Regions from separate parts of the Homo sapiens genome. Here all the other regions are linked to region 3. The links are contacts of gene promoters, found by promoter capture Hi-C in blood cells and fetal thymus (Javierre and others, 2016). All regions are on one chromosome and are shown on one strand. The core of a region is centred on a gene start or on the middle of the fragment in contact, and the rest is flanking DNA. Distances in the headings are between cores, read along the strand shown. Region 1 overlaps NR3C1 (nuclear receptor subfamily 3 group C member 1). Region 2 holds the start of LOC128966704. Region 3 holds the start of HMHB1 (histocompatibility minor HB-1). Region 4 overlaps NR3C1 (nuclear receptor subfamily 3 group C member 1).

What was found. Contacts are between HindIII fragments. The CHiCAGO score rates a contact against its expected background, and 5 or more counts as called.
Region 1: a contact is called between a fragment that was not itself captured here and the fragment with the promoter of HMHB1 in region 3, in 1 of 17 cell types (monocytes). The highest score is 5.9, in monocytes.
Region 2: a contact is called between a fragment that was not itself captured here and the fragment with the promoter of HMHB1 in region 3, in 3 of 17 cell types (endothelial precursors, M2 macrophages and M0 macrophages). The highest score is 7.3, in endothelial precursors.
Region 4: a fragment that was not itself captured here is called in contact with the fragment with the promoter of HMHB1 in region 3 in 2 of 17 cell types (M1 macrophages and naive B cells); the score reaches 5.6 in M1 macrophages.

Annotation. Positions count from the first base shown.
Region 1 is chr5:143,308,625-143,315,908 of GRCh38, forward strand. NR3C1 (nuclear receptor subfamily 3 group C member 1) reads right to left here. Exons shown (of 9, transcript NM_000176.3): 3 at 5,378-5,544; 4 at 1,473-1,589. Among named protein-coding and RNA genes, the nearest start is that of NR3C1, 91 kb to the right of the region's middle. The HindIII fragment of the contact is 8,081 bases long and covers 1-5,444 here.
Region 2 is chr5:143,408,242-143,415,619 of GRCh38, forward strand. It overlaps LOC128966704, which reads right to left and starts at 320. Exons shown (of 2, transcript XM_054328421.1): 1 at 1-320. It also overlaps a transcript of NR3C1 not described here. The HindIII fragment of the contact is 2,480 bases long and covers 2,479-4,958 here.
Region 3 is chr5:143,806,657-143,814,052 of GRCh38, forward strand. It overlaps HMHB1 (histocompatibility minor HB-1), which reads left to right and starts at 5,505. Exons shown (of 2, transcript NM_021182.3): 1 at 5,505-5,648. The coding sequence starts at 5,612. RefSeq lists an enhancer at 109-178. The HindIII fragment of the contact is 5,854 bases long and covers 3,532-7,396 here.
Region 4 is chr5:143,328,634-143,335,891 of GRCh38, forward strand. The region is part of intron 2 of NR3C1 (nuclear receptor subfamily 3 group C member 1); the gene reads right to left. It also overlaps the pseudogene RPL7P21. Among named protein-coding and RNA genes, the nearest start is that of NR3C1, 71 kb to the right of the region's middle. RefSeq lists an enhancer at 6,338-6,407. The HindIII fragment of the contact is 762 bases long and covers 956-1,717 here.

The DNA of each region.
Region 1 (7,284 bases), core at 154-2,653, 500 kb before region 3:
TTATTTTTCATCTATCTAATTCCTACTCAGCTTATAGATTTAAAATTCAATGTTACTTCTTCCTTGACTTCCAAGACAGAATTAGGTGACCTTCCTCTTGTTCCTGTGGCCCTATGCCCTCTATGGTGTGCCATGCTATTTTGTGACTGACTCTGCAACCTAACTAGCAGATAAACTACTTGAATACAGGCACTATTTTATTCATTTTATACCTAGTGACTGCCTTGTTGGTGCATATTTGTTGAATAAAAGTGCTAATTTCACAATAAATACTAAGCATATGTGTTATGAGATCACCACTACCTTCACAGAACTTGCAATTTCAACCACAGCAGAATTCCAAACTTTTTTCAGAGGAAAATTTTTTAATGCTGAGATCAGTGTTAATTATACAACTTGTTATATAAACAGGGATATGAAACTCTAACTTATAACTAGTTTCAGGTTTCTTTTTTTTTTTTTTTTTCCAAGACGGAGTCTTGCTCTGTCGCCAAGCTGGAGTACAGTGGTGTGATCTCGGCTCACTGCAACCTCTGCCTCCCGGGTTCAAGTGATTCTCCTGCCTCAGCCTCCTGAGTAGCTGGGACTACAGGTGACACCACCACGCTCCGCTAATTTTTGTGTTTTTAGCAGAGACAGGGTTTCACCATGTTAGCCAGGATGATCTTGATCTCTTGACCTCGTGATCCGCCTGCCTTGGTCTCCCAAAGTGCGGGGAGACCAAGAAACTTTCTCAGAAACTTCTCACTGTTGTGTGCATTCAGGTCATGGAGTTGAACGTTTCTTTTGATTGAGCAGTTTTTCAAACACTCATTTTATAGAATCTGCAAGTGGATATTTGGAGCGCTTTGAGGCCTACGGTGGAAAAGGTAATATCTTCACATAAAAACTAGACAGAAGGATTCTCACAAACTTCGGGGATTACAGGCGTGAGCCACTGCACCCGGCCCAGGTTTCTTCTTTACTTGAAAACCAAAACAAAACCCATCCAGTTCTTCCTTGAGGTTTTTTTTTTCCCACCACCCCCCGCTTGAAGATCTGTAATAAAACACAGATCTCCAAGTAAAAGGTATGCTTTTAAAAGGCAAACAGAAAAATGGACATGTAAATATGTCTGATACAGAAACATTTCCAACCCTAGGGAATAGTTTTGAGGCTGAAAAAAGGAGTAAGAATAATAAAGTTGCTGCATGTTGTGTAAGTTTCATTATTACATAATTTCCTTTCTTTGTATATAGTCTGGCTGTACTGAATTCAGTGTGTGTAAGAAGAACTGGTGGATAAACAAACAATATGACATATTCATGAAAAAAATTTCCCATTTTTATTGGGCAGTAACATTATGCTAGTCAAGCATATATATACTGAACTGACTACATTAATTACATCTGCTTACGTGTATCTTCAAAAGTAAAATGATAAATTTTTATAAGCTACAGAGACAAACAATTGCTTTCAGATATTTATATTACCTTCCAGGTTCATTCCAGCCTGAAGACATTTTCGATAGCGGCATGCTGGGCAGTTTTTTCTTCGAATTTTATCGATGATGCAATCATTCCTTCCAGCACATAGGTAATTGTGCTGTCCTATATGGAATAAAAGGCACTATTAAAGTTTCACAGGTCTTCAAACATATTTTATAAGGACAGCCTCTGTCTTTGTTTCCGGTGGAATATAACCAAGACACCCACAGGTATTGCCTTGAGGGAATGTTCTTGCCTACATTGCCATTATGAGGTCGAGAGGTCAAAAACAACAAAAAGAGTCTCCCTTTTTCTGTTCAACAAACTGAAAACAGTGCAATAAAAAACCTTATTGCAGTATTCACATATAAAAAAAGTACACAAATCAGTGAACCATTTAATAAATTTTTACAAACCAAGAACCTTTATGTAATCAGCTCTCAGATCAAGAAACAGAACAGTACCCCAACAGGCCCCCTTTCTGCCCAATTCCAGCCAGTACCCACCAAGGGTAACTACTTTTTTGATAAACTGTGTTTTACACAGTTTGATAGATTATGTTTTTTTATTTTTATTTTTTTGAGATGGAGTCTCGCTCTGTCGCCCAGGCTGGGAGTGTAGTAGTGTAGTGGCATGACCTCACTGCAACCTCTGCCTCCCAGGTTCAAGCAATTCTCCTGGCTCAGACTCCCGAGTAGCTGGGATTACAGGTGCACGCCACCACGCCTGGCTAATTTTTATATTTTTAGTAGAGACAGGGTTTCACCATGTTGGCTAGGATTGTCTCGATCTCAGGACCTCGTGATCCACCCGCCTCGGCCTCCCGATGTGCTGGGATTACAGGCATGAGCCACCACGCCCAGCCAATAGATTGTGTTTTAAACAAATAATAGTTTGGGGTAGATGGTTAACTGTATCAGGTTCAATTCTTTGTAAAGAATAGGCCACAAAATTGACCACTAGACTATAATTCACCTTTGTTCAGAGCTGCTCTCCAATGCCAAATATCTGTACCAGCTGTTTCAATTTCTTTTTGTACTCTATAAATATCCTAGCTTCTTTACTTGGACAGAAAATGGAAGCACTAACCCAATTCTATCCCCTATAAATCAAAAGTACGATCAACAGATACATCTATTGATGAAGTGGTTATAATACAAAAAAGTTATACCCTATAAGGAATCTCTAAATCACTGTCCTACAGTTACTGGAAGAAAAAAAGAAAAAAAATCACCCACTGCTAAAAATGAAAAATTCCAAAGTTTTGTTTATATCCAACTGAAATGTCAGGATGTGCACATTACGCCAATCTTGATTTCTTTATCCCAGGTATGTCTTGTGCACAGCTAAGACTCTGAGCTATAGGATCAGAGGCAATGTACCTTCATAAGTTAAAAATAGCCCTTTGTGGTTATTAGCATGAAGTTGGACAAGTCTATCTATCTGTTCCTTATCTATAAAATGAGGAGTTTTAACTAGTATTCACTATTTCATAACACATGGCCACGTACAACTAATAGTCATTTCCTGTCAATCCATTCATTCATTCCTTGACTCATTTATTTATTTATTTTTAGACAAGTTCTTGCTACGTTGCCTAGGCTGGAGTACAGTGGTGTGTCATAGCTCTTTGCAGCCTGAATCTCCTGCTTTAGCTTCCTGAGTAGCTGAGACTACAGGTGCGATGCCTGGATAACGTTTTTTTTTTTTTTTTTTTTCCTGTAGAGACGGGGTCTCGTTATGTTGCTCAGGCTGGTCTCAAACTCCAGGCCTCAAGCAATCCTCCCATCTTGGCCTCCCAAATTGCTGGGATAATAGGTGTGAGCCACAGTGCACAGCCCATTTTCCTTGAGCCACAGTGCCCAGCCCATTTTCCTGTCAACCCTTCTGATAAGACAATGAGATATCTTATTTTGGAGTTCCTGTGTCTTCTACTACTTGGTAAATTCCCTTTCTAACTAATAGAAAGATGAGTCTTCAAGTCAGCTGAAATTTTGTGACTTTGTTTTGTTTATATGGTATTCATTTTTGTGGTTAAAGTCTATTTTTGGCAAATAATTCTGGTTTTCTATTTATGGTGGGTGTGGTAGCCAGCCTCCCAAGATGGCCCCCAGTGATCTCTGCCTCCTTGAATGCATGGTCTTGTGCAGTCCCTTTCCGTCCTTTACCAAGATTGGTCTGTGTGGCCAATAAAATATGGCAGAAGTGATGGCATGTTACATGTGAAATCAGATAATAAAAGACAATAGTTCTGCTGCATTGATCACATACTCTCTTGGATCATTTGTTATGGGGGATGTAAATTATAATGCTACTCACGTTACTCCACAGAGACCACAAGGATGCCAGCTTTGGCTAGTGTAGTAGTCCCACCTATTGATTAGAGTCAAAAGTAAAGCCCACCCCTGCCTAGTGTAAAGCTCTGAATAAAGTGCAACAACTTGCTGATACCCATATTATACTATGCCAATTTTGAGGGATAATCTATAATTCTAGCAGGTATTAAGAATGGAGTGCTAAGTGTAAGATATTTTCAATTCACAATGGGTTTATCTGGAGGCAACCCCATTGTAAGTCGAGGAGCCATACTGAATGCGTATCACTTTCCCACCATCATAAAAGTTGAAAAATCGTTAAGTCAGGGACTGTCCGTATTATTATTATCACTGCATTTATATCGTGGAAATACTTAAGCAGTTAAGAAAGTGAGGAGTAAAGTGAGGACACGAAGACGCTTCTGTCTTCTGCGTATGTGTTAAGTAACATCCACTTTATTAGGAGCAATGCACAAAGCAGGGCTGGGCTTTACTTTTGACTCTAATCAATAGGTGGGACTACTACACTGGCCAAAGCTGCCATCCTTGTAATCTTTGTGGTGTAATATGAGTAATTTTATAATTTGCTAATGTATTAAAAAGTAAAACAAAAGAAAATGACTCATCTAACTCTCATGGATATGCAAACACAACATGAGACAAATAATAATAATCCTCATACAGTGAATGAATAATTGTTTCTTTAAAAAATTAATATAATCAGAGCTTTAGGCCAAGCTACTTTCAAACTGCTTTAGAAATAACTAAATTATATGACAATTTTTTTCCTAGAGGAGTCACTGGTAGTATTAGGACATTTTAGACTCTCTTCTAATAAATTTGCTATGGAATGAATTTCTCATTCTTTAGGGAGATAATGCTGTTGCCCTGTCAGCAGTCTGAATCCATAACAAAGTAAGATTTGTGTTAATACAACATTTATATAGTGAAATCAGTTTCTCTAAAATACCTTTCCTGACCTCCTCAGGCCGAGTTTCTCTCTCCCTCATCTATATTATAATCTCTGTACCTTGTCATTGTTAACTCATCTTTCACTTCAGTGGAGTGTGACTTCCCAGAGGGTAAGGATCAGGTCTTATTGGTATTTATACCACTTAGCACAGTGCCCTGGCTTAATAGAAAAAAAAAATGAATAAGAAATGAAATGAATATCTTTTTTTTTTCCTGTCACAGTTCTCACTGTGACTCATTTTTGCCAGGCCAGTAAAGTTGGTGACTTTGAAACCTATTAGCTTATGGAAGTTAAAGCCCATGTTTCTAATACAATGAACATTATGTTATGCCCAAACTTAACACCATCATTTCATATGATAGCACTTTCTTATAGTGTTACCTTATGCTCCCTGACCAAACTCCCAGACATCAACTTGTACTTTTCTATTTTATTCTAGATCTTTTTGTATTGTTGTTTTAAATACTTTCCTGCCCATTAGAGGACCTAGGAGCCACCCTCCTCTCCCCTCTTAACTGATATTTAGCCTTTCATGGGCTTTGCATATAATGGAAATTTCAAAATCCACCCTGAGAAATGAAAACCAAGTAGAGGAAAAATAAACTCTTCAAAACACACACTACCTTCCACTGCTCTTTTGAAGAAAACTTTACAGCTTCCACAAGTTAAGACTCCATAATGACATCCTGAAGCTTCATCAGAGCACACCAGGCAGAGTTTGGGAGGTGGTCCTGTTGTTGCTGTTGAGGAGCTGGATGGAGGAGAGCTTACATCTGGTCTCATGCTGGGGCTAAAGAAGGGGAAGAACAGTGTTATGATTTAACTGTCAAAGGAATATCAAAATACAGTTCTCTTAGCTTCTCACTTCATAGTCAGAATGCTCACAGTGAACTCTGGCTTCAAGTGCTAGCAGGCACTAAAATATCCTAGCTAAATATATTCAAATCATGTTATATTCTTCTTTAAACAAAATTAAGAATGAGGTCATTTCTTTTGAAGTGTCTCCAAAATAGAATGGTGTGGTTCTGGTTCACTTCTTCTTCTTTTTTTTTTTTTTTTTAGATGCTTAGGATTTATTTTTATAATCACGTTTATTAAGGTGTCACATACAGTAACATTTACTGTTTTCTAAGTCTATAATTTATGGTTTTTGTTAAATGAATATTCATGTAACTACTATCACAATCAGGAGAGAGGATATTTCCATCATCCCAAAAAGATGCCTCCTATGCCTTTAATTGCTTAGGCCATAATTTTTTTCCTAATTTTAAGATCTTATACAGGCATCTTTTAAAATTCAATCAAGTGTCATTACAATTCTACCCATGTTTCCTACTAGAGTCAAAATTTTTTTACAATCTTAAAGTTTTTGTCCCATGTCTCTAATTCCTAATGTCATCTTGGCTGAAACCACAATTTCATATGACTCAGAGAAGACTGATCCAGAAACATTTTCTATAACCTTCCTGTCTGGCTTGCAGTAAGATTGGACAAAGCACTAGGCTTTCAAAAGTGAGTTCCATTCTGCCCACTCCACTCTATGACTGTTTGGCTTGAAGAAGAAGACAGAAATGTGAATCTGCTTCTCTTACTAGGTCTCTAACATTTTTCATAGTCTCACCACAAAGAGTGCAGGTCTAGTGATTATTAGCTGTTTAAAAGATAATTTGTTGTTTTAAAAATTTTCAATCTCAAAAAAAATTGGAAAGAATTGTACAATGGATATATACTTTTCACCAATATTCACCAAGTCTTAACATTTTGCCACATTTAATGATAAAGATATATTTTTATAAACCAATGAAACAGTGATCTTTCTATTACTGGAGGAAAAATTAATTATTGCATTTCATATTACATGACACAATGGTTTTCAATGTTGTATTTTCCTAAGGAATTTTCCTCTTACGTGCTGACTTTAGAACCAAAACTGTATTATGCAGCTAAAATGATTTTGTAGCCTTCTGCTTGTAATTAGAGACTGCCCATTCCATTTTTGGTTGTGTTCTTAAGCAAATCTTCAAAAACATGGATGCTGGCAACCTGTTGATTCTGGAATTCTACATATTAAAGTCCGTTTTGCTTATCATCTATACAAGTTCATAAATATACTAGTACCTCTCTCTAAACTTTTCTTAATTTGCCTTTTCTCTAAAAAAGATGGAACTTAGAAATAAACTTAAATTGGGTGTTCGTTGTCTCTGTTATTCTTTATTATCTCTTGCTTTTATTTATTTCAGCCAATAACAGTAGTAAGTCTCAATTACAAATATGTTTAAACTAATTCACAGAGCAAAGTAACTTAAAATTTTTTTCTAGTTATCAATCTGGTTAGAAATTACATTTATCAAGTAATGTAGTTTGTTGCTAATGTTCCGTTTAGGAATAAAAGTTAAAAGGTAATAATAATGGAATGACAATTTCTTTTATAAATGTTACCTTAAGTAATTAAGCCAGTAAATCCAAACGATCGCCCTAAATTCTATCTTCAAATGAAGCTTCCTGAATCTTGCCAACTGCCTGCTTACCT
Region 2 (7,378 bases), core at 2,469-4,968, 400 kb before region 3:
AAGGAATGTAACCTTGGGCAGGCTAACTCTCTGTGCCTTTTTCCATCATCTGTAAAATGGGGATAATAATAGTACTGATTTATAAAGATTAAACCAGTTTGATATATGTGAAGTGCTTAGACGAATTCCTGGGTCATAGGAAGTATTTGCTCATCATTAGCAATTATTATTCATCTGTAGAATTACTATTTTCCCCCTTTTTTTTAAACAAAGTAGAACAAGAAATTAAAGATACACATTCAGTATCCATGACCTGAAATGCTTAATACTGAAAGTGTTTTAGATTTTGGATTTTTTTTTTTCTGATTTTGGAATATTTGCATTATAATGAGATATCTCGGCCATGGGACCCAAGTCTAAATAGGAAATTCATTTTTTGTTTCATATACACCTTATAGCCTGAAGATAATTTTATACAATATTTAAAATAATTTGGGGCATGAAGCAAAGTTTGTGGTAAGTACTTCCATGTAGGATTTTTCATTTGTGGTATCATAACAATGCTCAAAAAGTTTTGGATTTTGGAGCACTTCAAAATTCAGATTTTCAAGTTAGGGATGTTCAATGTGTACTTTTAGAATAATTTTCGTGCAGATTTCTAAATTTTTATGATTCCTCACTCCTGCCCCCACACCAGTCTTTTAAAATTGTCTTACATCCACCTTACTTGACGCAACTGTAAGTCAAGGAAGGCTATAGGGCATCTTTCCATTTAGATTTTATAGAACAATTTTTTACACTCATTTCATCATTTTACTTAATATTTAATCAAATTAAGTAAGTACAGTAATAAGCAACAAATGGCATAAACATGTTTGGGAAGCAAAAGCACCAGGAACTGTTGGTAGCTCAACTGGTGGGAGCAGAATCGTGTGAAGTGCAGAAGTGACCATGGTTCCAGTGTTCAGCGCACCCTGGGCATCAATCCATTGTTTTCCAGGGAGACTGGAGAACTGGATCAGTTGAGATCGATATTGAGTAGTGTCTGTTACACGATTCTGTTAAAGAAAGGACATAAGACACCACATTCATTCCCATGTCTCCTGTTGTTTATCACATATATTTCCTCTTACATAAGCATACTTCTTTGTGACTTATTTTCCTATAGTCCGTGATTCTTTGTCATGGCTTCAGTTTCCATTTATTCTTTTTTTCTGTACTCTCTCACTTTAAATGTGTGATGTTAAATATAAATGGGAACCATGTATACGTGTATTGTGTACATGTGTATTGTGTATTTTGAACATGTTAAGCCCACACAAACAGCTTTTATTGGTGGTTAGAACTTACTTTAAAAAATTATTCCTGCAGCTATCATAGCTATTATTTGTCTCTTTAAAATAATATCTTGACTTTGGAAAATACTTCTATTCCTATTTAACTTTATAAGGTAAGAGGTTCAAGGGAACCCAGCTGAGCTTTGAATGAGCCATCTCTGTCTGCTTCAATATTTGTATTTTATGCCAGACATGCCTATTATAAACAATTCACACTAGTACAGCAAGTTCTTAATCATAATGAACTCCACTTTGGTATTCCTCGTTGTAATTAGAATTAACATTCCCGCCTGGACTGGGAAATGCTAAATTATTACTAGCTTTCCTGCTGTTTTGCTGTCTTTCATGATGCTTTCAATGATTTCATCATAAGCAACCTAAAATATCACAATTTGTGCTCATATGCGTGAAATGCCCAATGGGTGTCCTGGTTGACTTTATTCTTTATGCTGGCAGAACTTAGTTTAAGCAATACCTGATTCAAGGATGAGGCAGCTATCAGCAGATAAATGAGATAAATGTTGCCATAAGCAGGAACTCAATGTTTTTAATGTTTGGAGGCATTAGAGCAAGCACACTGAATAATTGCAACAAGTATTACGTACTTTGTTTTTTCATTTGTGGCATTTGTGGCTCCTCATATGTCATTAGCTTTCTTCCTTTCTTGATTTAATCTCCTTTTCTCTCCCATGTTCCTTTGGTAAAGAGTGTTTCAATCTGCCCCGCTGCTATGTGGAATCTTTCAGCTCATTTGAGAACCTGCATTTCCATTTTGGTTCTTATATCTTCTTATTAGAGCACACAGGGTTTTGTTTTGTTTTTAAGCTAACTTAGAAATAGTGGGGTTGAGATGAAAACATTCTTGGTATAGGGATCCCTTAACAAGATAAGAAGATACTTCATATCAAACTCCAAAGTGCTACAAAGGACATTTGTCACCATTGAAAAAAAAATTGTTTTGAGATCAGTATTTGTCAATTAAATTTTCTCTATCCTCTTGTTGAATTTTCAATACAAGACCTGGTTTTTAGACCCTATTCTGCCATTTACTTACTTGAATGAGCCTGGGGTAGGCATTTGATTTTTCTCAGCCTTGTTTTTCAATCTGTAAAGGAAGGATAATGATATCTACCCCACCTATCACACAGGAAGTAATGTAGGCCTTACATGGGATCATGTGTTCAAACGTTTTTAAACACTAAGCTTTATTTGGAAAACTTAGAGGAGCTTATGGAATTTTTGCACTATCACTTCACCACAACAAAAATGAAAATTATCATTGTCTCTTTTCACTTATTTCCCAGGGAATCAGTGCAATGGGCAGTCTGGAATTTTAGGCAGGGGAGTGATAATTCAGTAGTGCACCGGAAACAATTGTACCAGCTTGCAAGCACTGACTGTTAAATTTTCAGAGATTTTGTAAGTTGGTTGTTAATCACAGTCATTATTAAAAACCAAATTATTTATAAACTCACAATCAAATATTTTAACAACAAAAATAAATGCTGAAGACTTTACTGCCTAATTATTTTACTCCATTTTACTATTATCTATGTTCTTAAAGTTATTTCTGTCTGTTCTGTATAAGAACATACCATACGATGGTATGATGCAGCGTATCCCTTCCTAACGCTGCATTCAGAAATGTTATTTTGGTAGTTTGAAATCAACCATGGTGGAGTACCTATACTATAGAAATTGGGAAACATGACAAACCAGAGCTTGATTTGTTTTGTTGATTGTCTAGACTGACAGAGTAGAAGAAATTTTAATAATGAAGATTGAACTTAAAAGTGCCTTAGTTTGTGAACACAAAAACTTGAGGAAATATTTTTCTAGTACTTGAAAGCTATTATCAGCAAAAGAAGTCACTTCTGTCATTAATGAACGAGTTTAGTTCCAACATCCATTTTTGTTGCTTCACTTTTATCTCGCTCATTAATGTAAAAATATCAACCAACATTCATGTTGGGACTTCAGTACCATGAATGACTTCTTTGCTGATTGGATATTAATCAGATATTTATTTGTGGTCTGATTTTGCCAAACGTGTTTGAATTTTAGCTGTAGGTTGGCTATGGACACAAATATTCTGCAAAAATCACTGAAATGGTTCTGTGAAAATCACATGGCCATATAGAATTTACTATTAAGAGTGTTATATTTTTTCTTGCTTTTTGTAAATTATGTGATACATATATGTAAAAATTATAAAACACATAGATACTCTGTTCCCCTCAGGAGCTGTTAAACATTTACTAACACACTAATGGACATAATCTAATTTACTATTTGAAAAGCTCGTTCTGCTTGCGATGTGGAGTATGAGTTGTAGGGGCTAAGGGAGAAAGCAGGGAGAGCAGTGAGGAGACAGGCACATTGGCCCAAGGAAAGATGACGAAGTTTGTATTGGTTGCAATGGCAGGGGAGCTGGGGAGCTATGGTTGGACAGGAGAGGTATTTTGAAGGCCAAAGGTAAGCAAAGCAGTCATCCAGCAGCTCTATGAAAGAGATGGACTTCCAGGAACTTTTTATGCTAAGAGAAGACCTTCTGGTGAAGAGTAAGCAGGCTTAGTTGAATGGGGTGAGTGCATAGAAAGCTGTGCCAGAGAAAAGGAGTCAGGGAGGGTTGTAGTAGGAAGTAGGAGATGTTGGCAGTTCTAGGATTTCAAGGTAAATATCTTTATATCAGATGGAGAAAGTTAGGCTGGATTGTTAGTCAAATGTCGAATTGCCTCAAAGTGCAGGGGGGGAGGGGGGAGGGGAAGCCCCAAATACCAGTAACATGTTGCAACTGGAACTCACATACTAAGCTACTCATCTAGTAATTTCATTGATTTTTGCCCACATGGAGGGGTTATTTGTTCATCTCCATGCCTTGAGCCTATCCCAATTTATAGTAGATTTTTTTTTCTCACATTTGGCAATTTTAATTATAAAACTCTCACACTGAATCACCCTGTGTTACACATATATTGCTGTCCCCTTTCATGCTTCTCACTTCTTCATTCCTATTTTTCTTTGCTATGCCATAAAGAAGGACCCTACCAAAAGCCACCCTATTGTCTTGCCTATTAGTTATCAGAAAACTTCTGGCAACCACAGTTTTCCCCACTTTCCCTGCTTCCTCCATTATAACCTACAATCTATATTCCACATTACAGGTTTTTTTGTTTGGGTTTTAACATTTTTCAAGAGAAGTTATTACATTTTATGGAGTTTAAAAAATAGTAAATGTTTTGCAAAAGAAAGAATCATGTCTCCACATTCACCCACCCTTTCAACCCTAATGACCAGAAGAAGGAAAGATTCTCAGCTATACAGCTACCAATGACTAACACTTTGAGGATTCAGTTTGGATATGTTGTTTACTTTGGTCTTCTGATGATTAGCTATTTTAGGCATGGTTTCAATCAATCAGGGAATGTTTATTAATAGAAGAGACTTTCTTAATTAATATTCTCTCCATTCATTCCTTCAACAAAAGAGAATTCCTTCAACAAAATACAATTCCTTCAACAAAATAGCAACTATTATATGTTAGGCCCCAGTATAAGGCTGCAGGGATATCAAAATGATAACAATCTCTTCTCTGGAGGAAATGGAGACAGATACGGTTACAAGTCATTATAGAACAATGCAGACTTACAGAAATGTGTTAGATGCATAGGGCACTTCATAAGCTTCAAGAAGTCATCTGGTGTTTAAGGTTAGGAAAATGGGTGTGGATATGGAGATGGTGGTCACGGAGGGTTTCCTAGAGGTTAGCAGGACTGACTTGAATTATGAAGGGTTTTCTTCAAGTTATTTGTTTTTTTTTTCTCTTGAAGATAATACTTCTAATGGAAGCTTGTAGACAACATTCATTAGGTCATTTTTTGGTGCATTTATAAGAAACCCCACTGTTAAAAACAGAGTTTTTTGATTCACTGAAAAGTCCAGGGGAAGTTTAATTTCAGGAGGCATGACTGGATTCAGGGGCTCAAATGAAGTCCAAAGGGCTTAAATTTTATCCCTTAGCTTCATTTTCCTGTTTTGTTTTGTTTTGTTTTCTGGAAAGATTATCTCCACCTCTCCACCTGGTGGCCTGTGGCACCTGGATTTAACACATCCTGCCAGGTTAGTAACTTCAGTGGAAAGAGTTCTTTTCCCATAATTTTAGTAGTTGTTCCTGGGAGGGGTTTCACTGGTCTAGTTGGTTCAAATGCTTATCCCTGGACCAATAACTATGACCAAGGGATGTCAGGAATGTGTACTATGATGGGCAAAGCCTAGCTCAAGTGCCCACCACTGACACCTAAGAATGGGGTACAAATGAAAGAGAGAGAAGAGGAGGTGCTTCTCCAAATAATTGGAGATTTTAAATTTAAATAGGAGAAAAGGGATTTCTGGGCATGCAGAAAAAAACCCAGATGTCCATGACAATAGCTTTTTATCAAAATATTAACAGTGACATAAACATCATATTTTACATTTTAAGAGAATAGACATGACTTAAAATGTTTGTCAGCAATGGAAAGAACCCTGAAAATTAAGTATAGTTGTTACAAGTTTTATTGGTTTCACTTCCTGCCTTTAATAGAATGTGGGTTTGTACTTTGAAATTTCAAATGTTACACAAATGAATTGATGATTGCTTTGCAGAAATAGTATCTCCACTTAATTGGGCCTTTTTTGGGTGATGAAGTGATGTTTACAACTTTTAAGCTAGTTTTATCGTCTTCCACTGAAGGAGTTTGTCTCACTTGAATATGATTCCAACAATATGATGGGTATAGGCGGCTGCAGTGAGCCTCTGTCTGCTTATTTTGCTCCTTCTGTCTTGACAAGCTGAATGTCACGCAAATGTCTCAAGCCTCTGCACTGGGCAGGCAGGAAGCCAGAACCAGTAATAGAAGCAGTAGGCACTCTGTGAATACTTGCTGATTAATTTTAGCTCCATAGGCCTGATGGGTTTTCCATCCCTATAATTACCATCAGCAAATAGTTATTGAATGATGTCCAGCATATTTTTATTTCCCTTTTCTTGATCCTGATTTTCATTTTCTATTTTACCTCTCTGTGATTTTATCACGTGTGTTTCTGTTCATCAGACTAACAGAGCCTCCTGTGATTAGTTTATAATCACTCAGTTTTATTTCTACCTATGAGATATCTTTATCTGTCTGTCTAAATTTGTCTTTGTTATGACCCAGTTCAAGTTCTTTCTGGAATTAGGGAAAGGATGAAGTGTGAAAAAAAAGGAATTAAATAGTTCGGTTATTGAATGGCTATTTTGTGCTTGATGCTATATTAGTACATTTCCACATTTGCTTTACAAGTTAGTCTTTCTTATTAGAAGTAATGCTTAACAAGCCTACAAGTACTGACTGGGCTCACTTTATAGAGAAAATGGAGAGCAGTGAAGGGTGAGGAGGTTATGAGTTATGGATATGACAAATGGGGAAAGATCTTACAGAAGAGAGATTGGGGCCATCCAAGAAAAATCGTTATCTTTGTGTAGACGGCATTAGAAGGATGAAAAATAACTTTAGATATTACTTATGCCTTTAAGAAAAAAACTTCAAAAGATGCTAGAAAATAACACATACTTATTGTAAAAATCCAAACATACAGAAGGTAGAAATGTATAAAGGTAAAAACTTCCTCACACAATCCCATTTTGCAGATGTAACTATTTTTTTCTTTTTATATTTTGATGGCAACAAATTTGTAATTATTTTTGAGTTTTTATGTATATTCCAGATCCCCCACCCCATTATTCCCCTCTTTAAAAACTTTTATTATGTGAAATAGAAAGTAGAATTGTGACTATCAGAGGCTGGGAAGGGCAGGGGGAAGGGGAGGATGGGGAGAGATTAGTTAACGATTACAAAATTACAGCTAGATAAGAGGAATGAGTTCTGATGTTCTGCAGTACCATAAGGTAAATGTGATTAACTATAATTTATTGTATATTTTCAAATCCTTTTTGTCTATACATGGATGCATGCATGCATATATGTTTTTTAAAAACAAAAATGAGATTTTACTACATGTATTTTTCAACCTTTATTCATCAAATGTTATTGGACATCTTTTCATCTTTTCAATATTTTCAG
Region 3 (7,396 bases), core at 4,255-6,754:
TGGGTGCTTCCTTTCTTCCTACTCACCCAACTCTCCCTCCCACTTGGGAAAGTCCTTCTGTTGTGTACAGGGGATATTTTTAAAGCCATGTACCGGAACTTCAATGCTGCTGGGAAATTCCTCCAAACGGCTTTATTTGTAAGAGAAGTATGCTGCATGCTGGTTTTTTCAGTATTTCATTACAGACCACAGATGGAGGAGTGCCTCCTAGGGTAGGTCACATGGAGCCTCTGGATTCTGCATCTATGACCTTTCTCTGTGGGTCCCAGATACCTTATTTCCCTCCTCTCTTCCATCTCTTCCAGCCTGCAGCTTCTGCTTCTTTCAAGCACATTGGCTCAAAGGTCTCACTATCTTTGGAGAAAAATGAAACTGAATCCCTTCCTAATACTATACATGCAGGTGAAGTCAGATGTGTTGAAATGTAAAAGATAAATTGAGAAATATAATAGGAGAAAATGTAGGACAGTATCTTTGTTAACTCGGGTGGAAAAAATTTATTAAACAGAACATCAAAAGCACAACCATACATTTTAAAAAAGATTAATATGATTACTTTAAAAGTAGGAATTTTGGTTCAATGAAAGGCAAAGATAGCAGGCAGATGAGAAAATTGAAAAAGAATTAATCATATCTAAAATTGACAAGAAACTCTTACACATTATTTAGGAAAATATATAATATCAAAAATTCTTAAGCATCAACAAGGAAAAGACAGAAACCCTAGAAGTGCAGACAACGGGTAGGAACAGGCAATCTATAGAGGAGTGCTTTGAAAAGACCCAGAAGCATTGAAGAGATGCTCAAAATCATCTGCTAATAGACAAATGCAAATGCAAATAATTATGATATATCACTTGACTGGAAAAAAAATTGAAAGCAAGATCATTTCAAGAGCTGGCAAACATATGGGGCTGGAAGACTCTCAGGTGTTCTGCTGTTGCTGACTGAGGAGCCATCTGGGGGAGTAATCTGGCAGTAATTAGTCAAACTAAGTATACATAATTGTATAACCTAGCAATTCTATCCCAGGTATGTACACCAGATAAATTCTCACACAGATCCAGAGGGGGCCACGTACAAGGTTGTGAACTGCAATTTAATTTCTGGTGGCAAGGAGCAGGAGGCACCCTGGCTGTCCCTCACTGAGAAAGCAGGTGGATACAAAGTGATGGATGTGACCACCCTGCAGTTAGAGACCATGAATTAGATGTTTGTGTAGAAACACGGAGGGGCCATACAACATAGTGGAGGTGGAAGAAGAAATAGAATTAGTTATAATCCAGTATCATTGCTGTAAATCTGAAATACACACACATGCACAAAATATCATCATATCCATTTTGCACATAAAAATATACACATTAAACACATTTATTTAGAATGATGTGGGAGGGGGGCAATGAAAGACAGAAATGGGGGTTAAGGGGAATAAATAAGCACAATAGAGGAACCTCCATGGACCACTGATGACATTGCGCCATGAACCAAAGAGTGTTATTAACTCAAGCCTCTGTTCCTGAGAGCCAGAGTAAACAAAACAAAACAAATGTGCTCCGTTGAAACTTTCAAGCTTCCTCCAAAGGGGCCTGTCAAATTGGGGATATCCTACCTGCCCTCAGTTATCCCCTCTTAGGTCCTGAAAAATGCTAAACCTGGCCTAGACCACTGAAAGGGTTGATGACGTTTCTGTGTTTCCTCTCTATCCTGTTGGGGTATTATCCATGATATTGTGATTTTCAATATGTTATATTAACCTCTATATGGTATACATCTCTTGCCACCTACTTATATTTAGGGTTCATGATTCTAAGTCCCACATATGTGGGTGTCCATGACAAAATTCCAATCTTAGATGATACTTTTTGCTGTTCTCTCTTTTTCTAATAGCAAATAATTTTCATGATAGTAAACAGCAAATCGAATAGCAAAACTTAAATGCCCATCACTAAGAGACTGGTTAAATAATTATGATACATCCTTACAATAGACTATGCAGCCACAAAAACAAATGAAGAAGGTTTTAAGGCACCAATATAGAATTAACTTGTAGACATAGAAGTAAGTGAAAAAAAAGAGCGTGGAAAATCATGGGGATAATATGCTACAATTTACAAGCTTGTATATCTCAAGCATCTCTGAAAGAATATATAAGAAACTAATATTGGTTGCCCTAAAGGAAGAGACCCAGGTGACTCTGGACAGAGATAGAAGGAGATTTTCTGTACGTTTATACCTTTTGAACTTTTGGATTATGTGACTGCATGAACTGTTTTAAATTAATATGTAAAAATCAATAAATTTGGGAAAGGGGTTAGGGAGATGTTGGTCAAAATAAACAAGAAAAGATAAAAGAGGAGGACCAAATTAAAAATATAAAATAAAATCTACCAATAAAATTTATAAATTTATAATAGTCAAGGATTAAAAGTTTTCAGAATATTATATCATATATATGTAGATACAGAATAAGCAAACAGATTAAAATGATTATAACTATGCCCGCTATTGGTAGGTATAAAGTGATGCTGAATTTTAACAACTTAATTTAAAATCTTTAATTTTAAAAATTAATTTAAAATTAAATAATTTAAAATTTTAAAAGGTTTACAGTAGGTTTAAAAGTGGTGCTGAATTTTAAAAATAACCATGTATGTCAGAACTTATACACCATGTAAAGAATAACCTGTTTAAGGTCACCTTAAGAGGTAATACACTTACTTAAATGTAGCTGCTACTGCTGAACCTATTCTGGATTTCTCTAATATAGGGTTTTAAAATTTGGGGTCCATGGAGTCTGTGGATAAGATTCAGAGGCCTGTAAATCTGGGCAGGAAAAATTATATCTTTCTTTGTACTAACCTCTTTATGAAAGTTAAAGTTTCCTGGCCAGGCGCGGTAGCTCAAGCCTGTAATCCCAGCACTTTGGGAGGCCGAGGCAGGCGGATCACAAGGGCAGGAGATTAAGACCATCCTGGCTAACATGGTGAAACCCCGTCTCCACTAAAAATACAAAAAATTAGCCGGGCGTGGTGGCGGGTGCCTGTAGTCCCAGCTACTCAGGAGGCTGAGGCAGGAGAATGGCATGAACCCAGGAGGTGGAGCTTGCAGTGAGCCGAGATTGTGCCACTGCACTCCAGCCTGGGCGACAGAGCAAGACTCCGTCTCAAAAAAAAAAAAAAAAAGGAAAAATAGAAAGTTAAAGTTTCCTTTAATTATGAAAGCAATAGTAATACCTAAATTTTTGTTACCAGTGAAAATTCTGAGTCTAATTTAATTCTGTTATTTTCATAACACATTTTAGTTTTTGCAGATATCTGTAAATATCATTCCCAGGTTGATATTAGACATTTTTAGATCTTCTTATTTAATATGTTATTAAAGAAGAAAATATGTTACTATGTCACAATTTTTAACATTTTGATAACTGTATTCAATATAATTGGCTCTTTATAATTCTATATATTTTCTTTTATACTTATAAAAATGATGATTCTGAGACAGAGTCCAGGGGCCTTACCAGAGTGCATAAGCTTCCCAAAGCACAGAAAGTTAGACCTCCACACCTCCACAAATAGATCTAATTTCAGGGCAAGAAAAGCAGTGATGATGCTTTATGACCATATGTTCTTTTTGACAAAAAAGCAGTCTTTAACAGTTTTGGCTAATTGCAAAAAGCCAATGCATTCTCAAAGGAAAAAGATATGCCAACACTGAAGATACTTTTGAGAAAATTCCATCATCAAAGAAGATGGTTTTTGTTTTTTACAGACCCAGTCTTTCTCTGTCATCCAGGTTGGGGTGCATTATTGGAGTGATCATGGCTTACTGCAGCCTCAAACTCCTGGGCTCAATTGATCCTCTGGCCTCAGCCTCCTGAGTAACTGAGGCTACATGTATGCACCACCGTGCCTGGCTAATTTTTTATTTTTTATTTATTATTTTTTTTTGTGTGGGGATGAGGTCTATGTTGACCAGGCTGGTTTCAAACTCCTGGGCTCAAGCGATCCTGCTGCCTTGGCCTCCCAAAGTGCTGGGAATTACAGGTGTGAGCCACAGTGCCTGGCTAAGATGGAGTTTTATATACAGAATTATCAGGCCTTCTTTCATATCTCATCCTCAATATGCAAATAACTAATTCATTTAGCAAATATTTATTGAACGTCCATTATGTATGAGGCACTATTGTAAGTATTGGAATAAGTGCAGTGAACAGGTCAGATATGGTAACTGCCTGGATGGAGTTTATGTTATAATGGAAGCAAATAGACACAAGAAATATGATCGCATCAGGTATTTATAAGTGTTATGGTGAAAATAATGCAGAGTAATCTAATCTAGGGAGTGAGAGGGTGACTAGGGTCACCCATGTGGTGGCTAGGTGCCTGGGTCTGGCGTTGCACTTCTTCCATTCAAATCCTGGCTCCATGCACCTCTGGCTCTATGGCCTTGTCCAGTTGTGCACTCTCTAAATCCCAGTTTTGTTACCTGTAAAATGGACATATTAACATTACCTACTTTAAAGAGGTGTTTTAAAGAAAATGGCTACTCCTAACATCTCCCCAAGAACCAAGCACAGAATTTTGGAAGTTTTAATATATTTTCTTAAAGAAGTCTCTTTCTCAGCATTGTAAGACAATTAACTAGATTCAAGTCTCAGAGTTGTTAAGTTATTTTATCTTAAGGCATCCAACGGCACAGATTGACATTAAAGTGAAAGAAGAACTAGCTTCATCATTGCCATTGTTCTTTACCATAGCCCATGGGAACACAGGACCCGGCTGACTGAGAAAAGTGAATGAGGGGAATTATATCAGAAATGACAGAGAAGGATGGGCAGGATTTCTGGCAGGCACAGGTATTTCTAAGTAAGAAATGGTGTGGTTAGGAGAGAATACTCTCAAGAAGGGGAGAGATGGATTCTGCGGCAAAGGGAGGTTCCTTCATTCAGTGTTTATGGAGAGAATAAAGGCGCTGGCCCCTCCAGTGAGGATATGGAGTAAACGAGACAATCAAGTCCATCACTCCTGGAGCCTGCATTCTAGTGTGGAAGACAGACAGCAAATGATACATCAACATTAAGAAATTCATGAGTAAATAAAGATAATTTCAGGCAATAATAATTACTCTGAAGAACATAAACAGGGACCTATGATAGAAAAGGGGTGTAAAGGAGTTTGGAGGATTTAAGCTGAGTGAGCAATCTCATCTCTATTTTGATAAGGTCACTGTGGATTCTGTGTGGATAACACATTGGATGTGGATAAGAACAGGAGCAGAGAGACCTCCAATAGCAGGAGGCTGCTCTAGGGGTCCTTGCAAGGGATGCTGGCAGCTTGGACCCGAGTGGTGGGATGCAGATGGAAGAGGCAGGTGGACAGATGAGACAGCTGAAGCAGGAAAAGCAGGCACAAAGGCTAACACAACACAATGTAACAGAACGGGAGTTTAGAACGGAAGGAACACTCCAGAGTCATTCTGGTCCAATTCTGCAGATGAGGAAACCACATCCCAGGAGGCCGAGGCGGCTTGCCCCGCATCTCAGAAGCCGGGCAGGCCCTGAGCCTTCTGACCTCACATCCTCTGCCACACCACAGTGGAGAAACCAGAACTGGAGGAGCAGCCAGAATGCAGAGAAGAAAAAAGAGGTGAGGGAGCGAGGAGGAGGGAGAACAGAGAGAGAGGGAAAGAGGCAGCGAAGGGGCAGAGAAAATGAAAGAAAATGCTGGTGGAATGAGAGGGAAACCACAACAGGTGAAAACAGGGATGGCGGAAGGCAGGGGAGAGGAGTGAGACGGCCCTTGTTGCTGGGATTATTTAGGGCGGATAGTTTCCAGTTGAGGTTCGGTTTCATAGCCCATTGCCTGGCTGCCTGCAGCTGTCAGGGCACCAGAGGCAGCAGTTGGAGCAGCTGCCTGCACCACCTGAGCCACAAGGACAACGGCAAGGGAAGTGCAGATGGGCAGGAAGTCCCTCTGGGTCGGAGCCAGGGTAGCCAAGATCACATTGTTCTTGCCCACCGCGTGGGATGCTCAGGCTTCCCAAGGCAGCCCAGAGACCAGACCCGTCCTTTATCCTTAGCATGGCCACCATCATCACCATCATCGCCATGCTCCCACTTCTTAGGATCATGTGCCGGGGGCTTTGCATGCATTTCTCTCTTTCATCCTCACAGAAGCACTTGAGGGGGGTATAGCTTTCCCCAGTTTACAGATAAAGACACGATGGCTTCATTCCTTAACTCACTAACCTCATTTCAGAGCCAGGAAATGGCAGAAAGGCCCTGCTGTCGTGTTTTTTGTTTGTTTGTTTGTTTTTTTGTCTTGTTTTCTCCTCTTGAAGAGGACACACGGAGCCCTGGGTTGACGTTATAGGAGGTGTTGGTGCCGTGCACTGAAGGGATCTGCTGTTTTCTCCTTCCTGCAACTGGAGGTCACTCAGCCTGGACTGATGAGGCCGGGGAAGCCTGTGCTCTGTCTGGTCCACACAGCCCCCTCAGCCACCCCAGGGAATGCTCAGATCCAGTTGCACAGGTAGCCCACAGAATACAAACAGAACTTTCTTTTAGAATTTTTATGCTGTTTTATTGTTTCATACAGACAACTACCGACCTTCCCTTTTTTCCTTCAAGGCCCCTTTCAAATGTCACCTCTTCTATGAAGGTTTTATTTCTTTCCAGGCAAAATAAACCACTCCCTTTTTGGTGCCCTCATAGTTTTACATTTTGGCCTAAAGCACTTGTTCGCCTCCTCCATCAGAGCATGGGATTCTTGAGGGAAGGAACTGTGTTTTAATCATTTCTGTATCCTTGGCATCTAGCACAGTGCTTGGCACAGTAAAAGCTGTCAATAAATGTTAGCTGAACTGAAAAGTAAAAAATGGAAAGGGCATTTGTTGGGGCCAGCATAAGTCAACTGTTTCCATCCTTGTTTCCTTAACTCAGAAACTCAAATGAAGAAAGACATTGTCAGTCTCATGAGCAGTCCATATTTTTTTTTATTGGTGAGAGATAAAGTAAATGGCATGTGGATTTCCTTTGGAAGAATAACAAATAAAATTCTTTTGTAAGGATGTGAATTATAAAATTAACTTTTTTTATCTCCAGATTGTCATTTTGCAAGGAAAAAAATATAAGTAATAAATATGAACATACCTTTTTTATTTCAGACTTTTGCTCCATAGGCAATAGAAATGAGATGGCCAATTACAGTATTGAAGCAGAAGTACAGATATAACTCAGTGCAGAGGCAAATATGGCACATGATATTTTCATATTTTTATGTGTTACTATGAGTAACACTATTGCAAATTCATTTTATTTATGATTTGGTCTTTGTAGCTCCAATTTCATTATTAACTGAAATTTCATAGCATCATTCTTACTGACATGCATTGA
Region 4 (7,258 bases), core at 87-2,586, 480 kb before region 3:
GACTGAACGCTTTCAGAATCAGCCAAGTCACCACTAGGATGCTTTGCTGCTTAGAAATTTTCTTCTGCCAAATACCCTAAATCATCTCAAAGTTCATCAGTTCTCTAGGGCAGGGGTAAAATGCTGCCAGTCTTTTTGCTAAAGCATAGCAAAAATAACCTTTGCTCCAGTTCCCAATAAGTTCCTCATCTCTGGGACCATTTCAGCCTGGACTTCATTGTCCACGTCACTATCAGCATTTTGGTCAAAAGTATTCAAAACAAGTCTCTAGGACGTTCCAAACTTTCCTATATCTTCCAGTTTTCTTCTGAGCCCTCCAAACTGTTCTAACCACTGCCTGTTACCCAGTTCCAAAGTCACTTCCGCATTTTCAGATTATCTTTATAGCAGTACCCAACCCTGCCAGTACCAATTCTCTGTATTAGTCAGTTTTTACACTACTATAAAGAATATCTGAGACTGGGTAATTTATAAGGGAGGTTTAATTTACTCATAGTTCTGCATAGCTGGGGAGGCCTCAAGAAACATACAATCATGGCAGAAGGCAAAGAGGAAGCAAGGAAAGTCTTACATGGTGGCAGGAGAGAGAGAAAGCACAGGGGAAACTGCCATATTTAAACCATCAGATGTTTTGCGATCTCCCACACTATCACGAGAACAGCATGGAGGAAATCACTTCCATGATCCAAACACCTCACACCAGGTCCCTCCCTCAATATATGGGGATTACAATTCAAGATAAGATTTGGGTGGGGACACAGAGCCAAACCATATCACATCCTGAAAGTAGGTATCTCTAATCCCATTTGACAGATGCAGAAACTAGGACTCAGAAATGTTAGAGAATTGGTCCCAGAACACTATATTATACATTTATTAAGAGGCAAAATCTAAATTTGCATTCAAGATTCCAAGTCTACTGCTGCTTTATTTTTTTGCACATGCCAATAGTAAAAGCTTGGTTTTCAAACTGTATCACAGATTAAGATAGATTAAATTAGAACAATATTATAATAATTAGAGGATGTTAGAACTCCTCTATTTCACAGAAATAAAGGTTAAATGATACCCAAAGTAACAGGTATCATAGGTAAGAAATTAACACCTTTTTTTAAATACCAATACTCATGTATTATTCCTTTACCCTGCATTCTCCAGATACAGATAAAAGGGCTGACTACATTTTTTTTAAATATGTGAATTGTTCTAAAATTCAATACTTTTCTACATTCTGGTGAGATCCTCTTGGTAAATTATATAATTAAATATCAGTCAAAACATACTAAAAAATGTATTGTGGTGCTGCATATAATGTATATGTACTCTGATTTTCACATATTTGTCTACATATACATTTGTCAATTCACAATAACAGAGTGATGTGCCAAGTAAACTATCGTGTAGTTTCACTTTTGAAAATTTAACAATAGAATATAAGTTTTGTTTTTCACAGTCTAAGTAAGTATAGGTTACTGTGGTTCATTTTAGAACATTCATTAGAAAAGTAACGTGTCTCTTCTAAAATGCTATTTGCTAACATTTTAGAAACTGTATGTTAAATAAAGAAGAAACATTTAAAGCAAGTGATGATGTAATTTTTGTTTTAAAATTTTAGGGATATTCTGCACAATGTAAAAATTTCAAGGGCACACTTAGCACTTTTTTTGAGAAAGAATAAATGGTAGCTACTGTTGTAGTGGGAGATGTGCAATGTGGAAGCTTTAAAATTGATAAACATTTATAAGCAAAATAATAGTAAATAATATTTTCCTTTTTTCTAAAATAATCGTCAGATTTACAAGTGAAATCAATACTGTATTCTCTCAAACTTGTTTTAAAAGCTTTGTCAGAGTTTGTATCTTCATAAAAGTATTGCAAAAATTAATTTTAACAAACCAAATCCCTCTTGAAAAGAATCAAAAGGAATAAGAATGTGAATGTCAGCCATAAGAAAGCATTTTTAAAACTGTGTTTTCATATAAGCAGTTCTGCATGCAGGAAACAGAAACTGCTGAGTACCACTGCAGATTGGACACTGCTGTTAACAGCTCCAAAGTCTAAGAGAAGTGGAATCTCTGAAAATAAAAGTCATTACTTAAAATTTTAATTACCAACATAATTTTTAGAGTTGTCACTTTCAACAAAATCATCCCTGAAAAAACTTCACAAGTAAAAATAGTTAAATACAACAACAAAGAATTGCAGGGGATAGAAAGAATCGATATTGTTAAAATCGCCATACTGCCCAAAGCAATTAGCGGGTTCAGTGCTATTGCTCTCAAAATACCAATGACATTCATCACAGAATTAGAAAAAAACTATTTTAAAATTCATATAGAATCAAAAAAGGGCACAAATAGCCAAAGCAATCCTAAGCCAAAAGAACAAAGCTGGAGGCACCGTATTACCCGACTTCAAACTACTACAAGGCTAAAGTAACCAAAACAGCATGGTATTGGTACAAAACAGACACATAGACCAATGCAACAGAATAGAGCCCAGAAATAAGACCACACACTTAAAACCATCCAATCTTCAACAAAGTCAACAAAAACAAGTAATGGGGAAAGGACTCCCTATTCAATAAATGGTGCTGGGATACCATCTCACACCAGTCAGAACAGCTATTATTAAAAAGTCAGAAAATAATAGATCCTGGTGAGGTTGCAGAGAAAGGGAAATGCTTATACACTCCTGGTGGAAGTGTAAATTAATCCAGCCATTGTGGAAAGCAGTTTGATGATTTCTCAAAGAACTTAAAACAGAACTACCATTCGACCCAGCAATCCCATCACTGGGTATATACCCAGAGGAATATAAATGATTCTACCATAAAGACGCATGCATGTGTATGTTCACTGCAGTACTACTCACAATAGCAAAGACATAGAATCAACCTAAAAGCCCATCAACAGAAGACTGCATAAAGAAAATGTGGTACATATACACCATGGAATTCTACACAGCGATAAAAAGAATGAAATCATGTCCTTTGCGGCAACATGGATGGAGCTGGCAGCCATTATCCTAAGCAAACTAACACAGGAATAGAAAACCAAATACCACATGTTCTTCTCAGTTATAACTAGGAACTAAACATTGAGTACACAGGGACACAAAGAAGGGAAGGACAGACACTGGGGCCTACTTGAGGGTGGGAAGAGAATGAAGACTAAAAACCTATCCATCAAGTACTGTGTTTATTTCCTGGGTGATGAAATAATCTGTACAGCAAACCCCTGTGGCACAAAATTTGCCTATATAACAAACCTGCACATGTACCTCTGAACCTAAAATAAAAGTTTAACAAAAAAGAATTGCAGGGTTTTTTGGGGAGTGGGCAGGGGAGAAAAGGAACCAATAAAACAATGATTATGACAAAACCTTTATCCATAGTTTAAAATTAGAACACAAAACATCTAACCACCTGCCAAAACATGAATCACAAAATTGATATTTTAAGGACAAGTCATTAATTTGTAGCATAAATAGCTGACAACCTTAGACTAAATGTGTCATTGCTGATAAATGATTCACATCTTCAATACTGAAAGCTGACAAGCATTCAGAACATTAAAACAATATATCACAACACAGACTGTTAAATATTAGGTGGACAGTCAGTGCATGAGTTTAGCTGTACCAGGATTATTTTAAGAAAGTTCGGGCACTTTGAGTGTTTTTTTTTTTTTTTAATCCATAACTTTCTGTAAGAACCACACTGTGGATCATAACATCTGAGCTATAAGGATTAAGAGTGTAACTGGGGCCCGTTGGGTGGGGGGGCGGGACAGCATTAGGAAAAATAGCTAACGCATGCCGGGCTTAATACCTGATGAGTTGATAGGTACAGCAAACCACCATGGCCACATGTTTACCTATGTAACCTGCACATCCTGCACATGTACCCTGGAACTTAAAATAAAAATTATAATTAAAAAAAGAATTGAGTAGCTGCACCACTAGAAAGATGGCAGTAGCAAGACAGAAGAAAGGAAAAGGGCTCAGGTTTAAGCGACTGGAATCATTCCTACATGATTCCTGGCGGCAGAAACGTGACAAGGTGCGTCTCAGACGACTAGAAGTGAAACCTCATGCCTTGGAATTGCCAGATAAACATTCCTTGGCCTTTGTTGTACGCATCGAAAGGATTGATGGCGTGAGTTTACGGGTGCAGAGAACCACTGCAAGACTTCGCCTAAAGAAAATTTTTAGTGGTATCTTTGTAAAAGTTACCCCCTAGAATCTAAAAATGCTGCATATAGTGGAACCTTATGTGACCTGGGGATTTCCAAATCTGAAGTCTGTCCGAGAACTCATTTTGAAACGTGGACAAGCCAAGGTCAAGAATAAGACCATCCCTCTGACAGACAACACAGTGATTGAGGAGCACCTGGGGAAGTTTGGCTTCATTTGCTTGGAAGACCTCATTCATGAAATTGCCTTCCCAGGGAAGCATTTCCAGGAGATCTCATGGTTCTTGCGCCCTTTCCACCTCTCAGTGGCCCATCATGCTACCAAAAATAGAGTGGGCTTCCTCAAGGAGATGGGCACACCTGGCTATCGGGGTGAACGCATCAATCAGCTCATCCGTCAGCTGAACTAGACCCAGGTGAGGCAGGGCTGAAAACTGCCCTTGGGCTGACTTTTGATAGGCCATGCCTTGCCACTTTACAAGTTCTTTTTGCATTTACTAGTATTTAAGAGTAACCTTGAGATTGGGAGGAAAGAGGAGGCTGGTACAAATAGATGGAGACCTGCTGGGATCAGTGAATGCCTGATTAGGACATGGGGCTATGCATAGCCTAAGAGTTATAGGCTTAAAGATGTCGAGTAACTAAAAACTGTATTGCTGGCCGGGCGCGGTGGCTCACGCCTGTAATCCCAGCACTTTGGGAGGCCAAGGCGGGCAGACCATGAGGTCAGGAGATTGAGACCATCCTGGCCAACATGGTGAAACCCTGTCTCTACTAAAAATACAAAAATGAGCTGGGTGTGGTGGCACGTGCCTGTAGTCCCAGCTACTCGAGAGGCTAAGGCAGGAAAATCGCTTGAACCCAGGAGGCAGAGACTGCAGTGAGCCAAGATTGCGCCAGTGCACTCCAGCTGGGCGACAGAGCGAGACTCCATCTCAAAAAACAAACAAACAAACAAACAAACAAACAAAAAACTATTGCTGCAGTCATTCAGATGGAAATGGGGAAAGAATAATATTAATAACTGATTTCAAAAAGGACTTGAAGATGTGAATCATCTATTTTGCTGAAGAAATCTTAACTTTTTGAAATTACTTTTTATTGCTGTTGTCATACTCTTAGGTGACAAACTGCGGTAAATTTTTTATCAGTGAAGTGGAAGCATGCGTTTTGTTGTTTTGGGAATTTTTATCAAGTATCTTCAGAGAAGATTATTTCCTGCTTTATCTTCAAAAACTGGAAAGGAAGGGTCAAAGAAAAGACAGTAGCTGGCCGGTCGTGGTGGCTCATGCCTGTAATCCCAACACTTTGGGAGGCTGAGGCAGGCAGATCACCTGAGGTTGGGAGTTCGAGACCAGCCTGACCAACATGGAGAAATGCCATCTCTACTAAAAATACAAAAATTAGCCGGGCATGGTGGCACGTGCCTGTAATCCCAGCTACTCAGGAGGCTGAGGCAGGAGAATCGCTTGAACCTGGGAGGTGGAAGTTGCAGTGAGCTGAGATCACGCCATTGCACTCCAGCCTGGGCAACAAGCGAAACTCTGTCTCAAAAAAAAAGAAAAGACAGTAGCTTATGTTCATGTCAAGCACCTCTCATCACAGTCTAGTTCCAAGGAAAAATTCCAGCGTTTTCTACATTGGGTGCTGTGTCATCTGAAATCGGCACATTCCATGGAGGAAGGAGTCCTGCTTTGTTGCATGTATCCTAGGGTTTAATGTTGGTAAATGAGTCACTCTAGCATTTGTAGAAGGCTCCCTGAGACTCCTACAGCAGTCGACCAAGCCCAAGGACATAATTGAATCTGGAGAGTCCTGGGGCCTTGTTTTGATAAAGACTTGAAATACACATAGGAAGAAAGGCATAAAAATAAATGTTCACTTGTCTCTGCTGTGAAAAAAAAAAAAAAGAATTAAGAGTACAGAGAGCAATAGAAAGAGGGAGATCTTTTAAATTACATTGGAAGCAGTAAGTTTTCTTAGTTAGCCTGAGGAGGAACTCTGTCCCTGTCCCTGCCTCCCAAAAGGGAGCAAAAGGGTATAAATAGTTTATAAGAAGCATCCACTTGAAAGTTTAATTTTTCTCACAGTGCGAAAAAGAATAAAATAATACCAGAAAAGGTTATTATGATTTCTGAAATGTAGCATAAAGCCAAAACCTGAAAAGAAGAAGAAACACTGAATTAGACAAGGGTATGCAATAGAGAACATGAGGGGTTCACACCTTCTTGACACTGCAGGGAGTAGCTGAAATGACTGGTTGACGCTATTTGTGGGTCTTGGTTTGAATAGGAGGCAATTTGATTCTCTCCCTACTAGCATCAAGAAATCACATCATACACAGTACAGTGGTACATGCCGAGGCCCTTCCAGTTGTAGGCTGGCCCCATTTTTCATTCATGTGGGAAAGGAAAACTGAATAAACTCAATACAGCTATGATCCCCACACTGAGGAAAACTCTCTGTAACCATAAAGCCCAACTCATGTTTTTACATCTAATCCGTAGTCTACTCTAAGATTATTGTTGTAAATTCATCTGCTCTAAGATTACTGCTGTAAATTCATTTAGAATTACATAGCTAGATAGAATGAAAAGGTAATTTGTCAAATGAAGCTAAATTGGAAGATACTTTTACATTATAAAAACTATAACTATTTAGACAATTTAGAAAACAGCAAAAAGTTTAAATTAGAAAATAAAGTCGCCATTCTTTTGACAGAAAACCAGCAAACACTTCCATATATAGCCTGCATCTTTTAAAAAAACTGCATCTATTTATTTTGGGGATAACAATATAAATGGCTAATTTGCACCTTGCTTTTTATGTGTGGTACTATTCATCTGTATACTTCACATTTTGATAAAACTCCTATGTCAATAGATATTTTACATGATTCTTTAGTAGTTGTAAAGTATTTGGCTGTAACTTCCATTCTCCCGTTATTGGTCATTCTTTGGTTTTTCACTATTATAAATACCACTGTACACACCTTTGCAAATGTCTGATTATTTCCCTAAGTTAAATTCCTAGAAGGGACTGGAAAGCCGATGGACAACTTT